7 separate regions of the Homo sapiens genome follow, and regions 1, 2, 3, 4, 5 and 6 are each linked to region 7. Evidence: promoter capture Hi-C in 16 types of primary human blood cells and fetal thymus (Javierre and others, 2016). All regions are on one chromosome and are shown on one strand. The core of a region is centred on a gene start or on the middle of the fragment in contact, and the rest is flanking DNA. Distances in the headings are between cores, read along the strand shown.

What was found. Contacts are between HindIII fragments. The CHiCAGO score rates a contact against its expected background, and 5 or more counts as called.
Region 1: a fragment that was not itself captured here is called in contact with the fragment with the promoter of DUSP23 in region 7 in 1 of 17 cell types (naive B cells); the score reaches 5.4 in naive B cells.
Region 2: a fragment that was not itself captured here is called in contact with the fragment with the promoter of DUSP23 in region 7 in 1 of 17 cell types (M2 macrophages); the score reaches 5.4 in M2 macrophages.
Region 3: a contact is called between a fragment that was not itself captured here and the fragment with the promoter of DUSP23 in region 7, in 9 of 17 cell types (naive CD4 T cells, total CD8 T cells, non-activated CD4 T cells and 6 more). The highest score is 12.9, in naive CD4 T cells.
Region 4: a contact is called between a fragment that was not itself captured here and the fragment with the promoter of DUSP23 in region 7, in 10 of 17 cell types (naive CD4 T cells, non-activated CD4 T cells, total CD8 T cells and 7 more). The highest score is 10.6, in naive CD4 T cells.
Region 5: a contact is called between a fragment that was not itself captured here and the fragment with the promoter of DUSP23 in region 7, in 11 of 17 cell types (non-activated CD4 T cells, activated CD4 T cells, naive CD4 T cells and 8 more). The highest score is 10.1, in non-activated CD4 T cells.
Region 6: a fragment that was not itself captured here is called in contact with the fragment with the promoter of DUSP23 in region 7 in 1 of 17 cell types (endothelial precursors); the score reaches 5.1 in endothelial precursors.

What each region holds. Positions count from the first base shown.
Region 1 is chr1:159,984,695-159,988,924 of GRCh38, forward strand. No RefSeq gene overlaps it. Among named protein-coding and RNA genes, the nearest start is that of LINC01133, 26 kb to the left of the region's middle. The HindIII fragment of the contact is 3,688 bases long and covers 866-4,230 here.
Region 2 is chr1:159,581,744-159,586,027 of GRCh38, forward strand. It overlaps the pseudogene OR10AE1P. Among named protein-coding and RNA genes, the nearest start is that of APCS, 3.9 kb to the right of the region's middle. The HindIII fragment of the contact is 6,308 bases long and covers 1-4,284 here.
Region 3 is chr1:159,948,643-159,952,774 of GRCh38, forward strand. It overlaps SLAMF9 (SLAM family member 9), which reads right to left. Exons shown (of 4, transcript NM_033438.4): 3 at 3,620-3,892; 4 at 2,850-3,224. The coding sequence ends at 3,019. All of the region lies in intron 2 of LOC124904438 (a long non-coding RNA gene), which reads left to right. Among named protein-coding and RNA genes, the nearest start is that of SLAMF9, 3.5 kb to the right of the region's middle. The HindIII fragment of the contact is 4,904 bases long and covers 1-4,132 here.
Region 4 is chr1:159,930,350-159,934,537 of GRCh38, forward strand. It overlaps IGSF9 (immunoglobulin superfamily member 9), which reads right to left. Exons shown (of 21, transcript NM_001135050.2): 8 at 4,076-4,188; 9 at 3,841-3,983; 10 at 2,163-2,303; 11 at 1,463-1,579; 12 at 1,104-1,254; 13 at 789-912; 14 at 343-518; 15 at 1-90. Among named protein-coding and RNA genes, the nearest start is that of TAGLN2, 6.9 kb to the left of the region's middle. The HindIII fragment of the contact is 4,282 bases long and covers 333-4,188 here.
Region 5 is chr1:160,022,431-160,026,456 of GRCh38, forward strand. It overlaps PIGM (phosphatidylinositol glycan anchor biosynthesis class M), which reads right to left. Exons shown (of 1, transcript NM_145167.3): 1 at 2,523-4,026. Among named protein-coding and RNA genes, the nearest start is that of PIGM, 7.5 kb to the right of the region's middle. The HindIII fragment of the contact is 9,782 bases long and covers 1-4,026 here.
Region 6 is chr1:159,598,976-159,603,140 of GRCh38, forward strand. It overlaps the pseudogene OR10J6P. Among named protein-coding and RNA genes, the nearest start is that of APCS, 13 kb to the left of the region's middle. The HindIII fragment of the contact is 2,357 bases long and covers 1,002-3,358 here.
Region 7 is chr1:159,778,881-159,782,706 of GRCh38, forward strand. DUSP23 (dual specificity phosphatase 23) reads left to right here and starts at 2,082. Exons shown (of 2, transcript NM_001319658.2): 1 at 2,082-2,487; 2 at 3,273-3,663. The coding sequence starts at 2,221. The coding sequence ends at 3,458. LOC101928264 (a long non-coding RNA gene) reads right to left here and starts at 501. Exons shown (of 3, transcript XR_922193.3): 1 at 346-501. RefSeq lists a silencer at 2,017-2,406 and an enhancer at 2,398-2,974. The HindIII fragment of the contact is 4,062 bases long and covers 856-3,826 here.

The sequences.
Region 1 (4,230 bases), core at 1,460-3,959, 210 kb after region 7:
TTTGTTGAAATAACATTTTTAACACATCCAATTAAATAAAATATATTAAAATTAAATTTCACCTTTTTTTAGTGTAGCTACTAGAAACTTTAAAATTCTATATGTTGCTCACATTATATTTCTTTCAGACAGTGCTCTTTTGAGTCTCTGACCCGTTACTGAATAGAACAGTCTAGAAGCAAGCCCTACACATTTAGGGAAAGTGATGTCATACACTGACTTCTTTACAGTCACCCCGGTACTCATCTGCTCCTTGGGCTCTGAATTTCTACAATGCTGACTGAGGAACATCCCCGAGCACACCGTTAATTCTGGACTGACAGGTACAACTAAACCAAGAGAGGGAATTCAGTTGGCCTCAGAGACAACACAGGCCCCTGCACCAGGACAGAAGGAAGTAATCGCTCCTTTCTCTTTTAAATGTCCAATAAGTTCAGAGCACCACACCCCCACACAGTGCCTCAGTGGGCACCTGTACGTACACTCCATGAGGTGGCTATTCCTTTAATCCCTACCATCTGCTCCAAAATGTTTATCCAACAGTTTGCCATGGTGCTTGAACTTCTATCATTTGGGTGCCTCTTTGGAACAGGAAATTTAACTCTGTCTGGTGACCGTGCACAGGATTTATAGCTGTTGAGCCTCAGGAGCCATCAGGAACTGAGCTTGCTTTCTTTCCTTCTCTGGCCCTGCCCATTCACTTTCTGTCCAAGAGTGGCCCTAAACCAGAAGAAACCTCCCAACTCCCTTCTCCTGATAGTCCCTAAAGACCACACACATGGTCTGCTTCCTTATGAAAGGCTCCACTGCCAATCACTGCAGTGATACTGATGACAAAGGATGGCAACAATAACAAAGCTAGGCAAGCTTCAAGGGCTCCAGAATCTTACTCAGGTATCTCAGCCACGAGCCCGGGTCTAGGGGGACTGAAAGGGACTTTGGCCACTGCCATTATTCTTGAGAGTGGAGCTCTCCACCCAGTGCCTGAAAGTAAAGGAGATGCGGGTTCAGCCCATTCTCCACTTTGTAGGCGTGAAGATGCAGCAGAGGCAGAAGAACAGCTGCTGCCCTCAGGGACAAGTGTGCAATTTCTACCTAAGAGGCCTCTAGGCTGCGTGATGTGCATTTCACAGGTTCTCGGCCTCTACCTCTTGATGTTCCTCACAATGTCCACTAAAAACTGTGTTTCTAATTAAAAATAGAATTACCATAAGATCCAGCAATTTCATTATTGAGTATATACCCGAGAGAATTGAAATCAGGGACACAGACAGATATTTGTACACCCATGTTCATAGCAGCATTATTCAAAATAGCCAAAAGGTAGACACAACCCAGTGTCCTTCGACAGATGGATAAACAGGATGTGGTATATACATACAATTGAATATTATTCAGCCTTAAAAGGGAAGGAAATTCTGATAAATGCTTCAACACGGATGGACCTTGAGGACCTAATGCTAAGCAAAAAAGCCAGACACAAAAGGATAAATATTGTATCACTCCATTTATATGACGTACCTTGACTAGTCAATTTCACAAAGACAGAAAGTAGGTTAAGGTTGCCAGGAGCTGGGCAAGGGGTCACTGGGGACCAATTTTTTGATGGGTACAGAGTTTAAAGGGCAAGATAAAAAGAGTTCTGGAGATGGACAGTGGTGATGGTTGCACAACTATGTGAATGTACTCAATGCCACTGAAATGTACACTTAAAAATGTACATTGTAAATGGTAAATTCTGTTATGTGTATTTTATCACTTTTTTAAAAGTACCTCTAATTTTTTAAAAATCTGTTCTTATAACATTTCTAACCAGAGCCAGGTTGCAATCAAATATGTTTTCAAGTATACCAATTTGAGAAAACTCATTCCCCACTCCTCACACTCCCTAATGGAAGAACCTCCACCAGGGAAACCCCCTACCCCCACCAAACTCTCTCAGTTCTAGGCACTCCTCCCCAAGGGTGGGCTTCATTCAGATGTGCCTTTGTCTCTCCTTAGAATCTGCTGGCCACCTGGGAGGTGCATACTTATCTGATCTCAGGGGCCTGGATGCTTCCACCCAGAACCCACAGGGGAGGCCTGCACTTTGGCAATAAGTTTACATCAGGGGCTGTTAGCAAGGCAAGCACATGTGGGTGCATGCCTGACATCAGATTCTGTTAGTAATAAAGCTGATAGTTTTATTACCATCTTCTTGACTACTGATAATAAGGAGATGAGATCACGGTTATCAGGACCTATGAACTTGGAGAAAAGTCTTTAACCACCGAGTTAAGTTCCCTCTAATTCTCTTTATCAAGAACTTTGATTCAGAACCAGGCCAGAAAGAAAAAAGGTCTTATTCATTGATTCCCTAAAATCCAAGCATGACCAGTGTTAGACCAGAAAGTGAAGTCCAGGGTTTTCCGCTGGACCTAAGTTTCAGCAGCCTTGTCTAAGGAAGGTGGTTACTAAATGCTGGTTATTAAGCTATTGTCTCTAGGATCTAAATCTACCCTTTTGCACTTGTTTTGTGATGCTGGATCCAGGACTCTGGTAAGCATATTTCTCCATTGCCAGCTTGCTCGCTGTCAGGTTCTGCTGACAGGGATGTTGGAGAGAGACTGGAAGGCAAGAGAAGGAAGAACTGTCCTTCCTATCAGCTGGCTACTCCTGGCAATAGGCCCAGGAATGGTCCTTCATCCTAGCAGCAGGTTGTCCCAGTCACCAGCTTCTTTTAGCGCCCTCAAAACAAGCCTCATGACACCTCCTCAGAAGGACCGTGTGAGTGAGGCAGCACCCACTCTACAGAGATCTGAGCTCTGCAGGGCCCCTCCGTGATAAACAGAATCAGTCAGAGGGGGACTTAACTCAGTGGCTAAGGACTTTTCTCCAAGTATGGAGGTCCTGATAACCCTGACTTCATTAACCCTTTATTGCCCTAGCCAGTGGGGTGGGAGGGAGAGATTGTTTCCTGCCCTTTTTTCGTTGTTATATCACTATTGTCTTGTTTTGCTTTTTTTTAGTCCACCAATAACTATTTAATTTCCTATATTAAACATTTCCTGTTAAATACCTAGTGTGGTTGCTGTTTTTCTGACTGGGCCCTGAGTACTTTCTGGGGTTGAGGTCCATGGCAGATAGCCCTTAGGGTGACTCTCATGACTCCTGTCTCTGGTGTCCATGGCCTGTATAATCTCTTCCTTTTGAGTGGAGGTGAGACGTGTTGACGTGGGTCTACCCATAGAATGTGGCAAAGGTGAAAGGACTTTGCAGATGGAGTTAAGGTCCCAAAGCAGTTGACTTTGAGTTAACAAAAAGGGAGGTGATCTGGAACGAGCCTGACTTAATCAGGTGAAAGACCTTGAAAGAGGAACCCTGGCCCTCCCTGAGATTGAAGAGATTCTCCTTGCTGAAGTAGCAGCCATTCTGAGGAAGCCTCCATGGAAAAGAACTGAGAATGGCCCCCAAGACCAGAGGAAGCCTCCAGCTGACAGCAAGCAAAACCCCAGGCTCTCAGCCATACCACCACAATAAAATAAATTTGGCCAACAACTTGAGTGAGGTAGGAAGCAGATTTTCCCCCAGCAGAGCCTCCAGATGAAAACTTTGGCTGAAGTTTCAGTCCAGCTGAAGCCTCAACTGCAGTCTCATGAGACTCTGAGCAGAGGACTCAGGTAGACCACACCTAGACTCCTGACCCACAGAAGCCAAGTTGATAAATGTGTGCATTGTTGGGAGCTGCTTGATGTGTTGGTGATCTGCTATGCAGCAATAGAAACTAATACAACATCTAAAGACTTCATATGAGGCAAACTAAACACTGTTCCAAGTACCCATGAAAATCCCAGAAGAGCTGACACCAACAGCCCAACACAGCCAGGTTTTTTCTTCCAGATTGGGACTTACAGTACCAATCAAAGAAGGTGGCTTTCATTTAGGAACCATGTGGTTCAAAACTACAAGTGTTTTTAAACATTAGAATCACACTCAGCATACTAAGATATCACACAAGATAACTGAGATTTAGGCAAAGCCGATTTGCCTCTCCTTCTCACTCTCATTCTGTGGTGTATATTCATTGAATGGAATAGCAGGTGGAGATTCTCTTACTATTTAAAGTGTTCTCTTGCTCACCGGGCACACTGGCACATGCCTGTAATCCCAGCACTTTGGGAGGCCAAGGTGGACCTCCCACTTGAGGTCAGGAGTTTGAGACCAGCCTGGCCAACGTGGTGAAACCCCATC
Region 2 (4,284 bases), core at 130-2,629, 200 kb before region 7:
TGTTTTCTATTGAATTCATTGGCTTGTGCTTGAGGTAAGCAGTACAAGCACAGACATATAGACAATGACCATGATGAGGTGGGGGTTGGGGGACACAGGTGGCAAAGACCTCAGATTAGGAAATTCTAAGCACGATGGAGGTAACAGGGATGTCAATATAGGAAATGCAAACCAAACCCATGGACACCTGCACACATGTGTGGTGAATAAAATACTGTTTATTTCATAGATAGTATTGTCAATGCAGGAGAGTTTCATGACAAGAAGGGTGTCAAACAAGAAGCAGTCTAAATAGCATATGTGCTCCTTTTGTACCTCTGTGACACTGTGGTTATTTAGACCACTGTCATGATCAGGCCAATGCAAAAGGCACCACACGCCAGCTGGGCACATGCCCTCTTATTCACAAAGACTGTGCACTCCAGGAATTCCCAGACAAATACACAGCAGTCAATGGTGGTCAAGATGGCAAAGATCATTATTTGTAATTCAAAAGATAAATGCTTGAGGGGATGAATACCCCATTCTCTATGATATGCTTATTTCACAGTGCATGCCCATAAATATATACACCTACTACATACTCATAAAAATTGTTTTAAATCTTAAATAAATTTTTTTAAAAAAGAAAGAAAGAACCCAGAAATTAAAAAAAAAATGACAAAGACCAAGAAAATCTCCTGGTTCTGAGCTATGAGACTAGAAAGTATTGTAGAATAAGGATGAGTGTATAAAGTCACTGAACTAACCAACACTCTCAGGAAAACATACATGACCAATGTGGGTGAGACTCAAGATGATGGCATTCCCTGCTGAAGTTAAGATGTGGATGACATCATTCACAGAAGCTGGAGACAACCAGCAAGGTGAACTTTGTCAGCTTCTGTGAGGTTCTTTCTTTGTATTTTGAAGTTTTAGGGATAACAATAAAATAGATCAGCATAAGAAAACTCTTGTGCTGCCATGTTTCTGTCATGAGCAGAAACATGGCATAGTTGACAAGATGACAAGAGTAGCGCAAGACAGCTCTAGCCAAGACCTCTTGTAGCTGCACGAGCAAGGAATCTGCTTCTGCATCTTCAGTGCATGTATTCTCTATCACTGTGGACTGGAAAATATATTCCTAGACACAGAGAAGGGAACTTTTAAACATACTCAAGATACAGAGTTACACTGAGTCCCTGCTGTTACATTTTTCTTCTTTGCACATCTCCTCCCAGAAGACTCAGGTATTATGAAGGGATTGTGAACAGCATGAAGATGGTTGTGGCCAGTGGGAGTCTGAATGGTAAATTTTATTTAAAAATTTATATTTAAAAAATGAATAAACATTAATCTCAGCAATGAAATCTATATTTTATAAAACTATAAAGATGGGTTGTTCAAAAAGAAGTGTAAGAGTGAAGGGATGTCAAGAAAGATAAAGACTAAGATACAGATATGGTGACATTCCAGAGAGCAGTTTCAGGTGAATTCTGAACTTAAAAGTGAGATTTCAGTGAGGTAATATGGTCGAGGTGTCTCACTAAACCTAAAAGTAGAAGATAAAAAAAAACTTAGCAGAGATTTTCTTTTATAAATGAACCCTGAAATTAGGAACAGAGAAATGAGATCAAGAAAAGACTCTTGTGTATCAGCATGACCTGGAAAGTGACTGACAAATTTGTGAAGCTGCCAGAATTGTGAAGGGGAGTTAGGAGTTCACAGCAGCCTGAGCCTGGCATTTAGAGTCTGAAAGAGCTACTTTGGTAGAAAGGTCAGTCATAATCTCAGGTGGACACTGATTTTTCTCTGTTGTTGGCTGAAATGTTATTAGGTAGGCAACAAAGACATGATAGCCACTCTGTCAAGAAGAGACAATCTATAAACTGTGTGGGAAATATGCATTGAATCCCAAGTCTCCTGTGGAGAATCTTGTTTCTCTCCTTTTGTTCTTTGTCAGAATTACTGAACCTTAGGAAACAAACTCCCTTCCTCTTTCTCCCTCCATCATTCCCTGAAACTTGGCTTCTGACATGCTCACTTTATGAAAATTACTCTTTCAAAGGTTACGACTGAAGTTTTTATTGCTAAATCCAGCATGCATTCAACTTAGATCTCTCTGATGCATTTAATACCACTGGATACTGCTTCCTGGACACTTACACTGACTTGGTTTCCATGACACCACACGCTATCCTCTCTGCCAAACATAATTTTTTGTCTCCCACCTCCCTCCCCACCTGCCATTCTTATCTTGCCTCTAACACCATGAATGTGAATGTTTCCTCAAGTCAGTGGTTGGCTCCCTGACCTTTCCTCTCTTCTCTTTTCCACTGAAAGACAAAATTCATTTTTGTTTCATTATCATTTATATGTTGATTTCTCTGAAACCTGTATTTCTAATTCCAAGTGGCCGTCACATATTACAAATTCTCCAAGACCTTTCTTACACATAAGTCATACTATCATTTCAAATTTAGCATTTGAGGAACCAAGTTTACCACCTACCCTCCACCTCCTCCAAGTGAACATCCTCTCAATTGTCCTATCTGTACTGGCAGCACCATATTTTTTTTCCACATGATTTGCAGTAAGAAATATGGTTCCATATTCTATATATATATTTTTAATTCTCATCTTTGTCCTTTTTTGCACTTACAATAAGACCCTGCCATCAGTCTAAGTTGTGTATCTTTGGTTTTATCCAACCACATATCAGAGTGATAATCAGTTACTCTTGATGCATGCCTCCATTGCCTCTTTCCATCTAAATGCTCTCAAATTCCCTTACAACTGACAGAACACACAGCAAATAATTCTTTACTGAACACAAATCTTGTTCTACTCAGTCTCTTCCTATCCAGTCTTTCCCATTGGTTACTGTGACTTAATGTCTTCTACAAACACCTGAGGTCTCAGAAACCATCTTTAGGTTATTCTTTAATCCCTCAGGTGATCTCCAGTTATATCTCATACTTCTGCTTTTTTGAAGCTCCGAGTCAGATCCTCTTTCTGCTACTGCTGATGCCTTCTTCCACTATGCTCTCTGAGGGTAAACTTTGTTGCATGCCAATTAATGTAGCCAAGACAACTCTGTTTGTGGCACACAGGTGGACCTGTTTCTCTTCAGCATACTGTATCTTTTCTTCCCCCAGCCTCAACTCTTCCATAGCCATCCAGACAGGAGCCGCCACCTTGACCTGAACTTTCACTGGCAGGATGGCACCCAGGAGGATCCAGCAACAGTGAGGATTGGCTCACTGTGAGGATTGCACCCAGTTCTGAAGACCCAGGATTCATTTTCCTACATCCTGACATCAGAACTTTTCCTTTCTACAATAAAAATAATTCTCAGTTTCCTCTTTGACAACTCTTGAAGTGCAGGCTGTTCTCTTCCAAGGCCTGAGAAGCATATTCTGGGGAAGGAAACTAGACAACAGAATCAGACTCCACTTTTTCTCCCTTTTCCAATTATACTGTAGACCCTACCTTCCAACCAGGGTTTCCTTTTCACAGTGTATAACACAACATTTTCATATTCAACTGCAAACCCTTGCACTTGGCCCCAACAGCTATCTAAAGCCGTTATCTCCAAGCTCTCCCACCATGAGTCTAAGGCTGTGTCACTTATCCCCAAGACCTGTTCCCTAGGCTTATCTCCCATTAGAGAAGACTCTCTTTGATATTAATTTGCAAACCATTTTTTGTTAAGATAATGATTATTTATTTATTTATGAAGAAAACTAGAAGCATCTGGTAAGCCCTGTGTTCTCTGAGTTTTATGGCACTTATTAATTAACATCTGGAAATGTTAGGGAATTGCATAGTCCCTGGGTTCTCAAGAAATGTTACCTTCCTGCTCCTACTTCCAGTATTACCTTATCATATTATTCAATTGTATTCTACTTTTTGTTGCTAATAAACTGTTTCTTGTAAAAAAAAAAAAATCCTCACACAAAGTTGAGTCCTTTGATTCCACAATATGTAACAGTTTCTTTTCATGTGTAAGAAAAATTGTTAGATGAAACCAATGATCTAAATATAAATAAGTCCTAATACCCAGATTCAGTCTAGAAGGGATTCAAGATAAATACAATAATATCTATAATATGAGACAGATAGTGGTAACAGCCATAAAGGCTCTAAAATGATGGTAATAATAACCATCCAGATACTGTTCCATGTACTTTATGTATATCATAGTATCTCATTTATCCTTAGAGAAACACTGTGAGGTAGATAGTTTTATCTTTGTTTCACAGAGAAGGAAACTAAGGTTCAGAGGGGTTTAGTGACTTGCAG
Region 3 (4,132 bases), core at 540-3,039, 170 kb after region 7:
GTTCCTAATCAGCAAAGTTTCTCATTGTCTATAGATAAGCAGAGAATTACTTGATATCAAATGAACCCTGAAAGGTGGAACACATGGGCTTTTAGTAGTGACCACATTTGATGTGTTAACATTGCTTGTACCAATTAAGCACCACATAACTATCCCATATTCTAGAATAGAAAGGGTGGCTTTAATAATCGATAATAGGGATGTTGTTAATCAGGCATATATTAAGTTATATCTGAGTTAAAAAAGAAAAGAAAAGATTGTCATCCAGGGACTCTGTTGACCACATGCCTGTAAGCAGCAGTCTTATTACCAGATCCGTAAAGAAGTGCGGTTTCTCATATATTGTCATTTAACTTTTTGTGTGCCTATCTTCTATCCCAATGAAACACTTAGCCCCACAAGGGTGTGGATATTGTCCTGTTTGTCTTTGAATTCCTGCTTCAGAAAGGCCCTGCTTACTTTTCCAGCCTGGTTTCTCACTTATCCCTTTATCGCAGTGTGCATGACTTTGCAGGCCTTAGAACTACTGTGCTCTTTCACATACCAGTGTCTTAGCACTTAGCTTCTGTCTCGATAGAATGCCCTTTTCTCCTTTCCAGACTCACTGCTGGCCACAGGTCAAATTTCTGTTGATCTGTTCCCTTCAGGACACATTCCGTGACTTTTCCCACCACGCCCTCACCTTCACCCCAGCCCTTTTCCTACCTTGTTATTGTATCTTTACACACTCCACAAAACATTCCTTGAAGGCAGAGGTGTCTCTTCTGCCTCCCCAGTGCTTGCCAAGTTCCTGGCATATTGCAGAGGTAGCGGCTTGTGCCTCTCTGAGTTTATATTCAACTTTCTTTAAGATCTCATCCTTCCTCTTCCAGAAGCTCGGCCTCTTTTGAGGCCTCAACCCTTCTCTGCTCAGAGATCGGCTGTAAGAAGAAGGAACTTTGCCAACTTCCAGGGAAATCCCTGGGCCTATCATACATTCATTCCTTTATTTATTCATCCTTTTGTTTACTTTCTATGAATTCAATCCTGCAATAACATGAGAAATGAGCTGCCTCTTTATGTGCAAGATGGACTCAAGGTGGCCTTTCCAGTCAGTCCCCATCCCTGCAGTGGTGCCTCCTAGGAAAGATATAAAAGGAATCAAAGGGATTGGGGGCTGCTGGCCTTTTTTGGAAGCAAGACTGCTCAGGGCCTAAGGGAAGCCCAGAGAACCAGCCTCAAGAAGGGACTGCCTTCCAGAGGGACAAGGGTTCAGGCCCTCAGAAAGTAGAGGGGACCAGTTTACCAGCACTAGGAGCTCTTGGGGCTGGTTTCCCAACCTTACTACCTCCTTCCCAAGCCCCAAGGGGCTCCATCTCCTGCACAAATACCTAGGGAGACCCCTACTCTTGGCTTCCAGCCCTGCCCCACGCCGCTCTCAAGACTCTCCTCCTGGGTGGTCCTGTGCCAGCCCATGTGTTCTACTTTCCTAAAAGGAAGGTATCCTTGGTCTCATTGGTTGCCCAGTTGAATGCATTCCACTGACCCCTGCACATACTTCTTGTTCCTTTTTTAGAAGATACTTTGGAGATCAGCATCCTCCCCCTCAAAAACAAAGAGGAAGAAGAGACCCACAGCAATGTTAGGCATGCCTCCTGCCATGCGGCCCTCTCCCCACCCTTCAGACACCTCTTCTGAAACTCCCCAGGGCCCCCAACCCACCCTGTCTCTGTGGCACCAAGTCGCTTGCCTAACTGTGTCTCTGTAGGAGCTCCAAGCTGCCTCTCTGCCTGCTTCTCTCTTCCAGTGTGCACTTCTTGGAGAAAGAGGCTGTGGCTCAATGGAAGTTTGCTGAACACAGGGTCACAGGCCAGAGGCGAGTAGCAGATCAAAGCCCAGAGCTCCAAAATGTCACCTAGGCTCCCAGCCATACATCACAGCCTTCACCACTTCCTGCAATTCACCCACTGCGTACACCTGTCCTGTCAATTGGGTGTTTTCTAATTCTCTCCCCAGTCCTCGCTTCCCCCTAACCCCCTGCCCCATGGCAACTGCATAAGTAACATCCACAAGATCTGATTTGGAGGGAATACTAGAGACTTGGGCAGGGACACATTAGGCCTGGGAGGCTGATCATTGGTCTAGGGAAAGAGCAAGAACATAAACTTAAGGGCCTTTGCCAGGGAGTTGGGGGTGGGCATTAACCCAGGACAAGACTCCAAAGAGAAGGCCTAAGACATGGAAATCTATAGGCAGGGACACAGGCAGGACAGTAATACTAATCACAAGCAGAAGTCAAGGCTCCACGATCTCGGCTAATAATCCAGCATCCCTATGGGGTAGACGCCAGAGGCCCAGAGCAACTGGCATCAGGGAGATGACGGAGAGGTTGCGAGCTCAACTCAGACCCAGGGTAGGTCTGAATGAGGTCCTTCCTACCTCCCTATTTAGGAGAGCTTCTAGACTAGTCTGGGATGGATGGAGTTGTTAAGCAAATGTATCTGCCAGGATGAGAGTGGGGTAAGGGAGCAGAAGAATCTTAACAGGAATAAGGCCACTTTTATGCAGGATTCAAAATGCCTGAAATTCTCAAGTCACAGGTTCAGTTAGGTTCAAAGAAATCTCTCACATTTCTTATCTGATGAACAAATAGCAAGCATGTTGGTGGAAAACGGGATAGGTGGTGAGTGACAGCATACCAAAACTTCCCTGTGAGGGGGCCCTTTAGACCCACTCTTCTCCCCAAAGGAGGGCCTGAAAAAGCACGTGGACTTGGGGGAAGGCACTGGGAGTTGGGGCAAAGACAGCAGAGTGGGTTTTGCCAGAGCCACCCAGTGAGGACGGAAGGACCCAACACAGCTCCTGCAGAGTTGTGGTCACTTAATTTGACTTTATTGCCAGCCAGTCTTCCCTCAGAAGTATGGCTCTCTGGATACCCACCCCTGAGCACCTCCTTCCCCTGGAAAGAAGAGAGCTGAGGAAGGATTCTCTGGGTGCTGGGAAGAAACCAAGCTCAGGACTGGGGTTCCCAAGGAGCAGTCAGGCAGGGCTGGAGCCAGGCTTTGCCTCCTTCCTCAATTTCATTCTGTTTCTCATGAGTTTCTTCATCCTTGGCATTTTGTGTCTTTTCTGGACTCGGATGACCCAGAGTCCCATGGCCAGAATTACCAAGAGCAAGAAGATGAGCAATCCCTTGGCCAGGAGGCAGAAGGCTGTTGAAGGCTTCTCAGAAGCATAGTTAGGATCTGGGGTGGAAGAAAGGAGGAAAGGGCCCATCAGTGGTAGGGTTGGGGTTAAGATTTGGGCAGACTCCTACCCAAATTTCATGAAGGGGTCTCAAGTTCACAATCAGTTGAAGTCCCCTTGCAAGTGTCTCTGGAAATATATTCTATGCACAGAAGCTCAGGAACTGAGATCTAGGAATCATTCTGAAGCCAAGCAAGAGAAAAGAAAAGACCTTTGGAAGTTGGGGGCACTAGAAAAACGGAGGGTCTCCTCTCCAATCCAGGTGTCAAGCCTCCATGGGAGGGGGTTAGCTTCTGAATTCCCTGGGCTCTCTTGGGAAGAGCTGGGGGAGGGAGATGGTGCCTCTAGGCACTATCTTTCATGAGCTCAGGGGGTGTCTCAGGGGTTCTGGTACCTGCATAGAAGGGCCCATCAGGGATGGGGCAAGAACTGACGTTGCTGATGGGGTTGTTGGCTCTGCAGGTGTAGGAGAGGGCACTGTCCCCCGGCCTCCAGGATGTGCTGAGGACAGGGCCTTCATGGAATGTATAAGTGCTATCCCCCCGGGAGAGCCAGCTGTAGGTCATATCCATGCCTGCCTTCTCCACAGAGCACACCAGGGACATACTGCAGGCACCTTCCCCAGAACTCTCAAAGTTCACAGTGATCTGGGGCTCTGACAGCCATCCTGGATGAAGGGGAAACACAAAGACCCTCTAAACAATCAGGGATCGGGTCTGTTTTCCTAAGCTCCTCAAACCTGGGGTACTAATGCTACCCCTTGACAGCCCCTGCACCTAAACAACAAATAGGCAAAAGCAAACAAACCCAACCACCATAAAACCTGTGGTTTCAAGGTCCCCAAGGCAACTGTCAAGGAAGACAGAGCTGCCTTTGGCATCTTCCACCTCCCCTTTACGTATTCTCT
Region 4 (4,188 bases), core at 1,224-3,723, 150 kb after region 7:
TCCTCACTGCCACCAGACCCCGCGGAGGGGACAGGGGAGGCGGTATCTCTGTTGGGGGAAGCCCGGGTGCAGCTGGCGTGGTAGGAAGCCCTGCGTGGGACAGAAAGGCAGGTCAGAGCAAGGATTCCCAGCGCCCCTCCCCTGGCCTTCCACAACTCCCAGTGCCCAACTCTTCTCCCAGAACCCCTGAAGACAAGCTCAAATCATCTTCCACACACCCCTCTGGACCCCAAGCTGGCCAGCACCTCTGCCCCTTCCCACCCAGGGCCTCCCATATCCCAGCTCTCCCAGCAGCCCTTCCCCATCCTTGTCTCTGCTGTTCTGGGACGAGAAGCTTCTCACCTTCCGGAGCAGACAAGACGATTTCGCTGAAGGGACCACTCCCCAGCTTGTTCTGAGCTAGCACGCTGAACTGGTACTGGGTGTGGGGCTGCAGCCCTGGCACTAGGAGGTGAGCAGCCCCCACAGGCACTGCCAAGGACACCCAGTCATGGTGCATTCGGTCAGGACGCTTGGCCCTGGGAGACATGAGGACATGGGGGGCACCTCGTGAGCTAGGAAGACCAGAAGATCTGGGGTCCAGAGATCTAACCACCTCCCCTCTGCTCAACCATCCAAGGTCTCAGGACCTTGGCCCTGAATGCCTCAGAATCTGGAAACAGGGAAGCAGAGCCAGGACTGGTGAGGGATAGAGGGACAGAAGAAAGGGCAGAAGGCCAGATAGGTTCAAGGAGGAGAGGAAAGGAGGCAAGATTGGCACAGAGAAATGGCAGGAGCAGGTCACTCACAGTGGGGTGTACCAGACACTGAATCTCTGCAGATAACCACCATCAAAGCCAGGCTCCCAGGAGACATTGGCACCCTTGGGCAAAGCCACCACGGACACATTGGTGACAACATGAGGGCTAGTGCCTAGGCAGGGGGGAATGGAGGGATGGTGGTCAGGGCCTGAGGGAGTGTACAGAGTAGCAGGGGCCCCAGGGCCACTGACCTTCACCCATCATCATCCCAGGGGTCCCACACCCATGATCCTCTTTCTGGGCCTCCAAAAACGATTCCCAAGTAGTTTCTCCCAGCCCCTGGCCCTCTCTCCAGCCACTAACCCAGCACGTAGACGTTCGTGGAGGTGGCCACTCGGGCCACAGCATTGCTGGCACTGCATTCCCAGTGCCCGTGGGCCTCCTTGGTCAATGGTCGCAGGATGAGGCTGCTGTTGCTGTCCACCTGGGCCTGGCCTTGCAGCCCCCGGCCCACCTACAGAACCACTGGTGAGCCCTGAGGACACACGCAGCCACCCCTCACCAAAGGCGCCCCTCATCTCTCCAGGCAGCTCCAGTTCCTCCCCACCCTGCCTCTGACAGCCTTCTCCTTCCCACACCCTCCCTCCCACAAAATGGCTGGGGCACGAGAGGCAGGGGTGTAGTGGGCGTGGGTACAGGCAGAGCGGGCTCAGGAGCCTTACCTTGGTCCAAGAGACAACAGGAGGAGGGTCCCCTTGGGCGGAGCAGGGGATGAGCAGCTCCCGCCCTACTTCTTGGAAATATTCTTCCTTGGGCCGCTCTATAAAAGCTGGGGGAGCCTGCAAGCCAGATCTGGCATTGGGAGGGGCCCTCTCTTACATCTAAGGCTGGCTACTCCCTCTCTCTGTGCTCCCTGTCATGCCATGTCTCACCTCACTCTCCCTCACTCCCCCTAGCTAAACACTCACCAAGCCTGTCTCTACCTCATTCTCTCTCCATCTCTCAATTCCTCTCTGGCTCTGTTTCTGTTCCCCAGTGGGTAGGGGCTGGAGGAAAATGGTGGTGTAGTAAGGGCTGGCAGGCTTAGGCAGGACTCTCAGAGATGTACAAACCTCTGCAGAACATTCTTCCTCCCAGAGCCCCAGAGAGGGAGGCAGCACGGTCAAGGTTAGTGAGAGTTGGGGCAAACAGGATATCTTACTTCTGGATGTGTGTGACTGATGTCCCACCTCCCGAGCACCACCTCTGCAGAAACCTCTGGGATGGCATCAGGCAGCTGCTGCCGTGGCCACCATGGGAAACAAACTTGGAAACCCCTCCCCATGTGTCTGCCCCACCCCACCCCCATCAGCCTGGCCTTAGCACCATCTCCAGCCATCTGACCCACTGTCACCACAGGCCCCCGCCCACCCCCGGCCTAACCTTGAGCAGCACGCGGGTCACAGGAGAGGGCCCGGCGGTACCAAGACTGTTGTAGGGGGTGCAGGAGTATTCTCCCAGGGCATCCTCGTTCCCCAGGGCGATGATCAGTGAGCCTTCTGTGCCCTGGGACCAGCCAGGGAACTGGAAGGAAGAGAAGATGACAGCTAGAGAGAGGAGCTCAGCAGAGACAAGCCCGGGATGGCAGTACAAGAGAGGGGGCAGGATGAGAAACCCACAGCTGTGCAGAAGACTCCAGCAGCTCCATGTCTAGGCCTGACCCCTCTCTGATTTCCAGTGCTTCCTTTCCTTCCTGCAGAGGGACCCCTCCCAATAGTGTGAGGCTGTGACTGCACAACTCCAGGGGGTGCCACTCACAGAAAATACACTGTGAATGGCCACCCCTGTAGTTGGGCCGCGTGGGGCTTCCTGCCTGCTGGGACTTCACCTGGCTCTCTTCCCAGCACTCCACAACTAAGTTCAGAGTCTTCCACCCAAAACCAGCTCCTATTTCTCTATTAAAGGGCCCGCCATCCTTCTTGCTGAAGTCTGCCTCCTCACGTTCCCTCACTCCCCCTGGTGAAATACTCACTAAGCCAGTCATCCTGGGAAGTCCCTTTTGTCAGAGCATGAGCCCATTCATCTTCATGTCCTCTGTAAATCAGACTCCATAACTCTCACCTGGGCCATTTCAGCAGCTTCAGAACCCCTCTTCCTATGTCCAGTATCTCCCGCTACATTCCACTGGGCAAGCTCAACCCCTGATCACAGCTCTGATCCTATCACACCAATGCTCAACAAATTCCAGTGGCTCCAACTGCCTGTAGACTTTTTTCTTAAATATTCAACAAAGATATACTGAGTACTATTGTTGTAGAAGCCCCAGGTACACTATGATGAAAAGATGCAATACTAGGCCTCAAAAATTTATAGTCTCTGCAGACAAAAGATCCCAATTGCCTTGGAATGAGGCAATAGTAACTTGGCATCCAGTTCTTCCTTTTGATGCTAACCTGTCTTTCCAGCTTTCTCTGCACCATTCATGTCCCTGCAGGCACTCCGGCTCCCACCCAATTGGACGATCCATGATTCCATAAACGTACTATACTACTTCCTGCCTCTTGACCCTGGTTTCTGCAAGGGAATGACTGTGTCCTCTTTGAGGCCCATCACCAAAGTCCCAGAATCTGTTGCTGGTCTATCCTCAACCACCCTAAGAGGAAGGCACGAGCTCCATCCCTGGCCTTCCAGACAGTGTTGCTGTCCTCTGCCCAGATGGTGCCCACTTTAAGGATGGATGCCTCCTTGCCCCTGCCCTCAACCCACTACCCCACACAGCACCTGGTAAGAAGTGTGTGTTCCCCCGGGACACACAATTTCCCAGTCATCACACGAAAGAAACTTCAGTTCTCCTTCTTGACTCTTTGCCATCATTTTCCCCAGAGATCATCTCTCTTCTTTCCCCAAAGAAGACACAAAACCACCACTTTAAACCATGGAAATTTTTCCTCAGGGGTTTTAAGTAGTTTCCTATGCAACATGTCTTATAACACAAATTAAATTCACAAAAGATGTGTGTCCCCAGTCACTGAACTGAATTAAACCGAGCTAACTCCACCCTGCTGTCCTGAGCAGAATAACGCCAAGCTAAGACCCTCCTTCCCCTGCCCCAAGCCTGTACCTTGTCCAGCTGCAGGGCCTTTCCATCCTTGGTCCAGCTGACAAAGAGCAGTGGGGGGTTGGCACGAACCGGGCAGCGGATCACCCCCGGCATGCCTATGGGCAGGGGTGTCTCAGGAGGCATAGCTGTCACCTGGGCTGGGTCTGGGGGAAAGTAGTGGCAAGTTGGGGGAGAGGGGCTTGGCCTGGCCCAGGGGAAGGGAGCAGGCTGAGGGAGAAGCTGGGGTCAGGCTTACAGAGCACAGTGAGGTAGGCAGAGGCTGAGGGTGGATGCAGGAGGCCATTGCTGGGCACACAGGTGTAGCAGCCGGCATCATCAGGCTGGGTGGCCAGCAGCCGCAGGCTCCCG
Region 5 (4,026 bases), core at 1,492-3,991, 240 kb after region 7:
TTGGAAAGCACACTCTCGCAGCACTGGGGAGGATAAATGAGAGGTGGAATGAAGGGCGAGAGAGATGAAAAGCAACAAGACCAGTCAGGAGCTATCGATTCCAGATGGGAGATAATGAGGGCCTGAAATGTAGTACTGGAAATGACAATGGCAAGATGCCAGCAGGCTCCAGGGTCATTAAAAGGTAGAACTGACAGAATTTAGTGACTGATTAGATGTGGGGCGGGTAACAAGTGAAGGAGAAGAAGGAATAGGAGGTGATTATAAGATTCTAGCTTAGAAAATTAGGTGGATACTGATGGCATTTAGAAATGACAGGCACTGAGAAACTGTTTTCTCTTCTTTTTCACAGCCCCTGCCATTCACACTGTGCAAAGGAGCCTGTCAATCACTGACTGATTTTAAGCAGGAAAGTTTCAAAGAAAGCCCCCAGTACTTACCAATGTTAAAGAAAAACAGGTAAGATAACAAACATCTCAGTACCTAGTATATATCAGGTTCTGCACTAGTTTTGTCCAATTAATGTATTAGTGAACTACTTTAGGTGTATTTTACTCTAGCTACTGATTTATAACTGAGTTATAATCCTCTTTCCACCAGTCTCCTATGGCACTGGTGAGTTCCTTAAAGGCAGGACTCTAGTCTTAACCATCCTTATACCCCCAGGCTAGCTGAGTGCTTGGCACAAAGTAGGCTCCTAAGTATTTACTAGATGAATGAATCATTGGTTGGACAACGTTGTTCCTGAACTCCCTGCTTTCTAGAATCCAGTGGTTCATCTTCTGTTCACCATAGCTAAATGATAAGGGTAGTACAGAGAAATGAGTAGTACATTTAGCTCCAGAAGATCTAGGGTCTATTCCTGCCTCACATACTAACTCTGACCTTGGGCAAAGTGCATATACTCTGAGCTTTAGGGGTCTCATCTGTGAAAATGGAATTTTAAAAAATTCCCACATCACAAAATTTGTGAAAGTATTTTGTATCATTACTAAAATATAAGTTGTTTACATATATGTTTCATCTTCCTTACATATTAACATGTGCTCAGAAGCCAGAGGAAAAAAATAGGTTGGGCTCAAAGTTATTGCATTATAAGCCAGTAAAAATGCTAATGTTAACTGTATTTTTCAACTAGCATTCATGTCGTTCTGCTGGATAATGTGAATTAGATTCTGGTTGCTCCTTGCTCACTCCAACTAGTAATACTTGCCTTACTGTTCTTTAAACCTGCCAAGCTCATTCCTAACTCAGGATCTCCGCACTGCTTTCACTCAGCAGGGAGGGATGCTGAGTGAAATGCTCTTCCCTTACCTCCCTGCACCATGGTTGCATGAAGGTCATGCATTCACTTCCCAGGTCTTTGTTCAAGTGCCCTCTCATCACAGTATCTTCCTAACCAGTTCATCTAAAGAAGCACCTACTCCACTCTCCGCACTGCCATCACTCTCTACTTCCTTAGCTTGTCTTATTTTTCTTTATGATATATCATCATCACAATCCTGTACTTGCTTATTCTTTGCCTCCCCATGAAAATGTAAGATCCATAAAGATAGGGTCTTTGCCTCCCTCTCTCACTCACTGCATCTACGATGCCTAGAACAATGACTGGCACACAGAAGATACTCATGGCATTTTGCTAAGTAGTTTGCTAAGTGAATGACATTTGCTAAATAAGTGAGGTTTTCCACTGTAATCACCTGTCATTGTATAGCACTAAAAAGGACTTGCAAAAAAAAAAGATTAGAATCAGAAGATCTGGGGTCCCACCCCAATCCTGCCATTAACCAGCTATTTGGCCTTGGAAAGTCACTTGTTTCTGAGTTCAGTTTTCTTATCTGTAACATACAAATAAAAATATCCTCTACCTTGCCCTACTGCCCCTCCATTTCACAAATCACATCATTGTGGAACTTAATGGGGTGTTATATAACACTTTATCAGTGGGGTATGTTTCTGTTTCTGTTTTTACTGTTAACTCTCCAAGAGCATAAACTGTCTATTCATCTATTACAGAACTTGACACAGGGCCTGGATCTATAAATAACTGCCAAAAAAAATGAAGAGCAAAGGTTATACATTTCCTTTGTAAAAAGAACTGAGCTTCAAATATTCATGCTCCAAATTATTTTTAAATAGTCACTGTAAGTGTCATTTCACTTTGTCTAGCAGACATAGCAATTAGCAGAGTGCCTGAGCAGCTATAAATGTTCTCATTTAGTCTGGTTTTTGTTCAGGATAATGAATATAAATGCTTGTTTTGACTAAATGAATGGTTCTCCTAGGCCAGTGCTGAATAAATGCTTGTGCTATTGTGACGCTTCTGACCCAGGCAGGAGACATGTGCTTCCATCTCCAGAACAGCAACCCCTGAATGACCCCTCGATACAATGGAGAAAAGAAGTGCTGTGTAATTTAGGGGCATAAACCAAACCTCCACTGCTTAGAGTCAGCTTAATGTCTGACAGAAATATACAAAACTGTAAAGCCTCAACCAGACATCTGAATAATCTGTCCATACATTTTTCACATATCAGTATTTATTATCTTTTCAAAGGAACAGGTCAAGATGAGAATAAAGTTTATGATCAAAGGTAGTCAAACATTTATTTTATATAAATATAATTTCCTTGCCTATATCCATTAGATTTGGGGAAAAAAGGTTCAAGTTTACAGTGCCAGAACAGCTCCTTCTTTAAAGGCTTGTAAACAGTGACTTGTTCTATGCCAGCATGCACACTTTGAGCATATCAACTCACTTAATCCTTACCAACAATTCTATGAAGATTGTGCTATCATTCCCATTTCACAGATAAAAACTAATGTATCTAGATATGATAATCTTGCTCAGGATCATGCACTGGGATTTGAACCTAAGTGATCTATTCTCTGATGCCGTACTATCAATGCAGTACAATTTTTAACTGCATGAATGCACACTGCAGAGCAACAGCAATTGAACAATGATCATTTGCCTTTTGGAAATTATGGCCACATACTTTGTGTAGCTTGATTTACAAATAGCTTGGCTAAAAAGCAGTTCAGCAAATCAACTTCTTAAAATAGGCTATGAAGGAAAAGTGCATGATGAAGCCAGCAGTAAACAAAGAAATTACACAATTTGGTGAGAGAGGGTTTGGAGGTGGAGGGGAGTTGTTAAAGGCCTGGAATCATTGAAAAGTTTGGGGATGACAGTGACTTGGTACAACTGAGAGAACTGCCCCTCAAAAGATTAGAAGGACAATTGATTGGCAAGAGACACTTGACAGAGCCAGTATTGAGTTCCATTTATTTTGGAGCAGTATGCATCTGCTGGGTTTGGGTACTCTGGAAAAATCCAAAACATAATATAATGGAAAAAGCATGGGTAAAAATCACTTATTAGCAAGTTGTTTAATCTTTGAGCCTCTTCGTTCATCTATAAATTTAGAATATGAATATCAACTTTGAAGTGTTGCTGTGAAAATTAAATAAAACCATATATGGCGGAATAGGTGCCCAAAATTGGTTAATCATGAAAAATTTACCATCATCAAGATGTAAAATAATTAGCTGTTGTTGTTGGGGCAGGGCTTGGAGTTGGGGGTTGGATATTAAGATTCCAAACCTGTATAATCTTTTATCTGGAAAACCTACCAGATAAAACAAAGAGATTACCACCCCCATGTTTTTAGGGAGAGAGACAGAAAGTATGACACACAAAAGAATTAATTTGTTCAACTTTGATGGAAGGTAAACCCCTTTAGTTCTCACTTTGTTTTTAAGACTAGGAAAAGATTCAAACTTCTTAATTATGGATTATCCACCATGTTCTTTCCTTCCTCGGAATCTTTGAGATCCAAGAACGTCTGTTCTTTAAGATGTAACAAAAAACACCTGAAGAAATTTGAAAATGACAGAATGTTAAATCATAATAGATAGCAGAATTATGGTTTTGTAAGAAAATACCTGATTTTTAGGAGATGCATGCTGATATATTTAGTGGTGAAGTTCAATGATGTTTGCAACTTCACATGGTTCAAAAAA
Region 6 (4,165 bases), core at 930-3,429, 180 kb before region 7:
ATTGCCTCAGCTGAGGGTTGGAAGAAGACCTTTGCCACCTGTGCCTTCCACCTCACTGTGGTCATTGTCCATTATGGCTGTGCTTCCATTGCCTACCTCATGCCCAAGTCAGAAAACTCTATAGAACAAGACCTCCTTCTCTCAGTGACCTAAACCATCATCACTCCCCTGCTGAACCCTGTTGTTTACAGCCTAAAGAACAAGGAGGTCAAGGATGCCCTATGCAGGGCCATGGGCAGAAACATTTCTTAATGCATTATTCCTCTATATAAATATACATTTAGTCATAGAAATGTGTGTCCTTACTTACATTAAACAACCTTACGACTCTGTCCCATGCAGTCTATGCTGCAATGGGATGTGCATGTCTTGCTTTGGTATATTTACTACAAAATCTTAGTCTCTGTTTCCATATATTTCAAAGTTTTGTCCAGGCATTTTCAACTAGGGATGTGAGAGGTCAAGGAGAATGGGCATGATTTTTAGGAAAGAGCATCCAAATTTCTAGGATGAAGAAAGGGACTTTTAAAAGTATATTAAATATGATTATATTGTGTTTAAAAAATAAAAAGCAATGTGTCTCATTTTTGTAATGCAATCTACAGAAAATAAAACTACAAAATCATCGCAGCAAGGTAAGGATAGTCAATAATGATGGATTCCCTTGAAAGAAAATAGTATCAGAATTGTCAGGGAAAAGTGAGATGAGCGTATTAAATTTAAAAAAAAATAGGAAAGTTGGAAAACACTGGCTTAGTCCTTGAAAATTTAGTCTTTATTATTCAATTTATGCTAAAGCCTTTGCTTTTATCCAGTGTAGTCGTCAGATGCTGGCCATGGCCACAGATCATACTTAACTCTCACCTTTCTAATCTAAATTCCCTAATTGAATTCTTTCTGGCTGCTGGTTCTCTCCATGGGATCAACTTCTCTCTAATCATTATGAAGAAAAATTGAGTTGGTCAAGAAGATCTGTGCCCTGTTAGAATAAGAACCATAAAAGCTTTCCTCATTTGCACATACCATGGCACCTCCTGGTAGCATAAAGAAACAAAAGTAGAACAAAACAAACAGTCCCAGCAGTCAGGAGTAGTTCAGAAGTATAATTGTAGAATCACTCAATTCACCAAAAAAGGCTAACAAGAAAAAAAAATATTTTTCCTTAGTAGACTCCTTTGAGAAAAATATCCTTTTTCCCAGGGCTTTCTGGGAACTTTTTTGGTTTCATGCCTATACATACCTTCTATGTGGTTATCTTGGGTGATGGGTGATGGTAGGGAGGGTTTAAGACTTTTGTTGAGTGCTTCCTTCTACTAAAATATTTTTTGTCAAGAATACTTCTCTGCTCATTCCCTAATGCCATTTTTCTTTTTTTCAAGACAGTCATTTTTTTCCTTTCCCTCCACTGAGAAAGAATCGATAACATCCTAAGGAGCTCATCTCAGGTAAAGAATATCTTTACAGATTTCTGAATTCTAGATTGGGGAGACCATTGTTCTTTCAAGGTCTGACCAGTTCTTTCTAATTCCTGTCTTGTGTCTTTGCAATTTCTACATCATAGAAACAAGGCTTCCTACAGAAGCTGTTGGGGGCTCAAAGGTTGGGTCCAAGAGTCTTGGACATGCTATGAGGTCTTTCTTGACAGCACTCTCAGGGTCATCCCACTACAGATCTAAACCTCTATGCCCAACAAGAGTGAGGCAGATTCCCTCCAGAATGAGAGTGTCTCTCCTGACAGTATGAAAGAACCCCTCCCACTGCCATCAAGGCCACCTGTACTGCCAACTCTTAATTATAACCTGCCCTTCTCAATTCTCTCTGGCTAGCAACTACTTGTACATCCTCATACCTGTCTTTTTGTGTGTAGAAGGGAAGAGATGAGACAGAGAGGGCTGTTCTGAGCAGGAAAGTACAATGATGGAAGTTGGGTGGTGATCAAACCTGTTCTATCCTGCTCCAGTGGCAGTGGCCAACTCCCACTGCCCATTACTCTCCTTTCTACTTCTGCACACAGCCACTCTCCTTCATTAGTTCATGAATCAAAGACAAAGGTTTCTCCAGTATTGTCTCTACATCTAAATGCTGCAACAGCAGACATACCACACGCCACTCGTGCAATCAAAAGTTAAATGTCACAGCGGGGCCCACAAAGAGCTGGCAGAAAATATGAGTCATAAATCTTGAAGGTGAAATATCTTTGTCTCTAACTCTGTTACCCACAATGGTTCAATCATATGTCCAGTTTTTTTTAAATAAACATGTGTGCTTCTAATTTCTTCTTGACAATAAGATGTTGTCTTACATGGTGGATAGAATAGAGGTCCCAGAGTCAGATGGGTGCTGAGTTCACTTCCTCACTCAGCACCCATCAGAACCTTTTTATGAATATAATGTTTTTAATTCTGCCTCGCTTGTCATCAAAAGCATTTTTTAATCTCCTTACCCATTTGTTTTGCACAGGCTGGTATCCAGTGACAAACCCTACTTCACATTGTTTTCTGCAGTATCATTTACCTCACTCCCACCCAGCAGTTAGTTGTTCTCTCTTAAGTGTTCCTAAAGTTATTTTTGGGAAATTACATGAGTTTAACATTTTTTTCATTGTGCTTTTCTTGCTTGTTTCTATCACTGGATCACAGGCATATTGGGATCAGGAACTGCTTTCCTCATTATGATACCCCTGCATGGAACAGCACCTGGAGAGTAGGTGTTCAATAAATCCTCACTTAGAGGTTGAGTACCTACTATGTACAAGCACCATGCTTGGACTTCTCAGCGTGTCTTGCTGAACTAGACACATCTGCTGTCTTTGTTTGTTCAAGCTGCTTTAACAAAAGACCAAAGAGTGGGTAATTTATAAAGAACAGAAATTTCGAGCTTACAGTCCTGGGGTCTGGGAGGTTAATGACCAAGGCACTAACAGGTTCAGTGTTTGGTGAGGGCATAGTCTCTACTTCCAAGATGGCACCTTGTTGCTGCATTCTCCAGAGGGGATGAACACTGCTTCTCATATGGGAAGAGATGGAAGGGCAAAAATGGACCTATCTAGTTACTCCCATCCCTTTTATAAGGTCACTAACCCATTTATAAAGTTATATGGTTTGGAAGTCCCACCCAAATCTCATATTGAAATGTAATCCCCAGTGTTGGAGGTGGGGCCTGGTGGGTGGTGACTGGATTATGGGGATGGTTTTCTCATGAATGGTTTAGTACCATCCTCTTGGTACTGTCCTTGAGATAGTGAGTTCTCACGAGATCTGGTCCTTTAAAAGCGTATGGCACCTCCCGCCTCACTGTCTTGCTCCTGCTCCCACCATGTGAGACGCCTGCTCCCCCGTGAACTCCCACCATGACTGTAAGCTTCCTGAGGCCTACCCAGAAATAGATGCCCGTGTTATGCTTCCTGTACAGTGTGCAGAACCATGAGCTAATTAAACATCTTTTCTTTATAAATTACTCAGTCTCCAGTGTTTCTTTATAGCAATGCAAGAACAGACTAATACATAAGGGCTCTGCCTTCATGACTTAATCACCTCCTAAATGTCCCACTTCTTAATGATATCACGTTGGGGTTTAAGTTTCAACATGAATTTTCGAGGGGACACAAACATTCAAACCAAAGCACCTGCTATCCTTTTTCTGTGTCCTTTGCAGGGGGCCCTCCCCTAAATACAAACACAGAGTCATAAGCTCGTCCACTGTGGCAGAGTCACTTGGGTCTGCCTGTTCTTCCTCTTTCCCTGGCCTTTCTATGAGCCAATTCTCAGTTGCTTTAAGACCTCTCTCAGCCCCAATGTTAACTTAGTTATTTGCATTGATTAATCGCTTAGCAACACAGAAGCAGAAACAGTCAAGATTTTCACAAAAGGGCGTAGAGTTACCAAGAAAATCATTCTTACTCATATGAGGATGTAACCTTTGAAATGTATTTAAAGAGAAACAAGTTTCTAAACAGAGAGTGATGTGCCATATACAATTAAAAATCAGGACATCTTCTAATTATACTTTTGGCACATGACAAACAAATTTATTATGAGGCTAGAAAATCATCCCACAATTTTACATTTTGAATTATAATGGAACAAAAGCTTAGCTTCCTTTGTTGCTGGAGACCAAATCCTCAAGTTTCTGACCTCCTAATTTCCCAACTCCTATTTATTCTGCA
Region 7 (3,826 bases), core at 832-3,331:
GCCCTTTCCACTCTGGGTCTGCTGGAAGGGAAGGGCAGAGCTTCCTAAAAAGGGAGCCAACTGGCCTCTCCACATGGAGGCCCTAATGGTTTGATGGATGCACTGCTAGCCCTGCAGAAACCCACAAGAGGGAGAGAATCATTGGTAGGGGACTCAGGGAAGAGGAAGATCTCGGTCTCCCAAAAAAATTTTCTCTTTCTGGAGAATATGGGCTTCGAGCTGGATATCAAGGAGGCAAAGAAGGAGCACATAGGAGGGTAGGGAGTGAAGTGGAAACTTCCCTGGTGAGTAGGGGAAGCAAAGAAAGGAGAACAAGGCAAAGGGACTAAGAAAAGATTAACTTACAAGAACAAATGCTAGAGTCTTGTCTCCAGAGGTAGTGCAACCAGAAATCCTGAAGAGCAGTTGAATTGAGAAGAGAAGTGGGAGGTCAGGGGGTTGGGGGAAGAGGTGACTGGTGGCTGAGAGGCCATGGCTGGGAAAGAGAGAAAGGAATAAACTGGGGAGGGCTGGTAACCTTGATAGGAATTTATGTAGGAAATGAGAGTGCAAACAGGAAGGGCTTAATGAGGGCTGTGATTGTCTGGAAGGAGAAAAAGGGGAGATTTGGCACCTCCTGGAACCTGGGGAAAGTAATTGTCTGGGTAAATGGTAAGTGTATTTCCCACAGGGTCAGAGCAGGCTTTGATCTTTAGGAGAAGACAAATTGCTTTCCATCTTGCTGAAGCCAAAGGCTTAAATGGTCAGACGTGTGTCATAGGTGGGTGCAAAGGGAAGGAAATATAATACATCCTCATGGCCAAGTGCCCTGGGCTTGGATCACTGTGTCCTTGGCCAAGTTAACCAACTTCTTTAAGCTTCCAATGATTCATGTACAAAAAAAGATACAAAAATACCTTTCACATGTGGTTCTTCCAGAAAGCGCTTGGCACAGGGCCTGGTACATAAACAAATTCAATAAGGGTTAACTATTTTCATAATTACAGTTAGTCTGCATCGCTAGAAGCACATTATTCAAATGAGGATATGGACTGGTCAGATGACAGTGGAAACGGTGTTCAGATCTAGGGGCCCCCACCTAGTAAGAACAACACTAATCAACTCTAGCCTGCCCAGGGGACAGTGACCCAGAGAACTAGGAAACCTTGAAAAATGAAGAAATATGAAATACTAATAAAAATTAAGAAAACCCACAAGCGTTTAACCCAGATAATATTTGGGGACATGAGGGGGTTATGTGAAGAGAAAACAATGTTCCATTTAACTTTAGGAAATGGCGATATTATTAAAGATTTTGGAGGCATTAGTCATCATCCTTTGGTCAAGTTTATTAACCTCTCCAGTGCCTCTGTTTTTTCATCCATAAAATGGGATTCACTAGATCACCTATCTTATAAGATTACTGTGGCAATTAAATGAGTCAGTATGTGCTAAGTGCTTAGAAGACTATCTAGCACATAATAAATGCTCAATAAGTCCTGAGGAGCAACTGGATTGACAGGAGAAGTTGGTGCTGGTTATTATTATTACTATAATTATTACCCTGGGTAAGTTTTTAATAGTTCCAGCAATGAAAAAATGAGAATAGCCTCCTTGCAGCAGTAATTCCCTCTTACTGGAACAGTTCAAAAAGTCGCTGATAACGACCAGTCAATCATTAGAGAGGAGACTCCTCGTCCTGGGAGAAAGCCGATTTGTCATCTCTTAAACCCCAGGGCATCCAGCGTGAAGGAGGTAGAACTAGGCCGGCCCGCGAGGAGGCAGGGGCAGGCGCCAGTGACGCAATGACTGCAACATGCCGCCAGGGTGCAGCAGAGCCCGACCCCGGGTTGTTCCATCCGCAGCAAACAATTCCTAACTCGCTCCAGGTCTTCCTTCTTAGCTGAGTGGGTTGAACCCCGTGGAAGTAACCCCCCGCCCATTATGATGATCCAGCCAATCACCGCGTGATCTGCTCGGACGGGGCGGGATCGCGGCGCTTCCCTCGGTCGCTCAGAGACTGGGTTCCGCGTTCCAGCCCCGCCCCAGGTTCTGGGCCAATCCCCGCGGCTGGGCAGAGCGACCCGAGGGCGGCGCCCTGCAGACCACGTGGCCCGGGAGGCGCCGAGGCCAGGTAGGTGGTGAGTTACTTGGCTCGGAGCGGGCGAGGGGACGCGTGGGCGGAGCGGGGCTGGCCAGCCTCGGCCCCCATGACCCGCTGTCCTGTGCCCTTTCCCAGCGATGGGCGTGCAGCCCCCCAACTTCTCCTGGGTGCTTCCGGGCCGGCTGGCGGGACTGGCGCTGCCGCGGCTCCCCGCCCACTACCAGTTCCTGTTGGACCTGGGCGTGCGGCACCTGGTGTCCCTGACGGAGCGCGGGCCCCCTCACAGCGACAGCTGCCCCGGCCTCACCCTGCACCGCCTGCGCATCCCCGACTTCTGCCCGCCGGCCCCCGACCAGATCGACCGCTTCGTGCAGATCGTGGACGAGGCCAACGCACGGGGAGAGGTCAGCGGGCGGGGTCAGCGCAGGGAGGGAGGGGCCTGGAAGGTCAGCGGGGGACACGGGCGGAGCTGGGGAGACCGGGCCTGGGATAACTTAACTGGGCTCGGGGAGGCAGACAGTAGGGCCGGGAGACTGGGAAGCCAGTGCGGGGGAGGGAAGCGCTAAACGGAAGGAACTAAAGAGAGGGCGAAGCAGTGCGAACTGGGCTTGAGGAGAGGCAGTGAAAACCAGCTAATACTGTGAGTTGTGAAGGAGAAGGGTGTGGACAGACACCTGGGAGAGGTGGGGGTTGAAGTCAGGTGGAGGCTGTTTACCATTTTCTAGAGTAAAGCTGTCCAAATATAATGGAACCTAAGTGGCTCCATGTAATGTTAATTTTTCTAGCAACGGCATTCTTAAAAAGCAGGGAAGCAGATAAAATTAACTTTGGTGATCTTAATGAGATATTTTCATTCTTTTTTCTACTACCTCTTCATACCCTGTTGCGTTTTTCACACTACATCTCAGTTTGGACTAGCCACATTTCGAGTACAGTAGCCACAGTAGCCGTGGCTACTGTCTTCTGTATTGAACACCACAGGTGGAGGGCTGTGTAGAGGTGGACAGCTCTTGAACCAGCCAGTGCAGAGGCCTCCTAGCCACCTAGTGCAGGGACAGCCCTCCCTGACTTTGCTGCAGAGCCCTGGACCTGGCACAGAAGAAGGAGCTGTGGGGAGAACCAAGTGAGGGGCAGGAAACAGTTGTGGGTGGGGGAGTTGAGTGGCACCCATCGAGCCCCCTCTTCGTAGGCTGTGGGAGTGCACTGTGCTCTGGGCTTTGGCCGCACTGGCACCATGCTGGCCTGTTACCTGGTGAAGGAGCGGGGCTTGGCTGCAGGAGATGCCATTGCTGAAATCCGACGACTACGACCCGGCTCCATCGAGACCTATGAGCAGGAGAAAGCAGTCTTCCAGTTCTACCAGCGAACGAAATAAGGGGCCTTAGTACCCTTCTACCAGGCCCTCACTCCCCTTCCCCATGTTGTCGATGGGGCCAGAGATGAAGGGAAGTGGACTAAAGTATTAAACCCTCTAGCTCCCATTGGCTGAAGACACTGAAGTAGCCCACCCCTGCAGGCAGGTCCTGATTGAAGGGGAGGCTTGTACTGCTTTGTTGAATAAATGAGTTTTACGAACCAGGGCACGTTGCATGGTACTTTATAAAGCATTCCCACACATTAACTTACTTCAGCCTCACTGTAGCCCTGTGATACAGGAAAGACAGATGGGCCATCTCTGTTCTTTGGATGAGGTGGGCAAAGCTCAGAGAGGCCCATCTTCAACACTTCTAGAAAGTGGAAGGA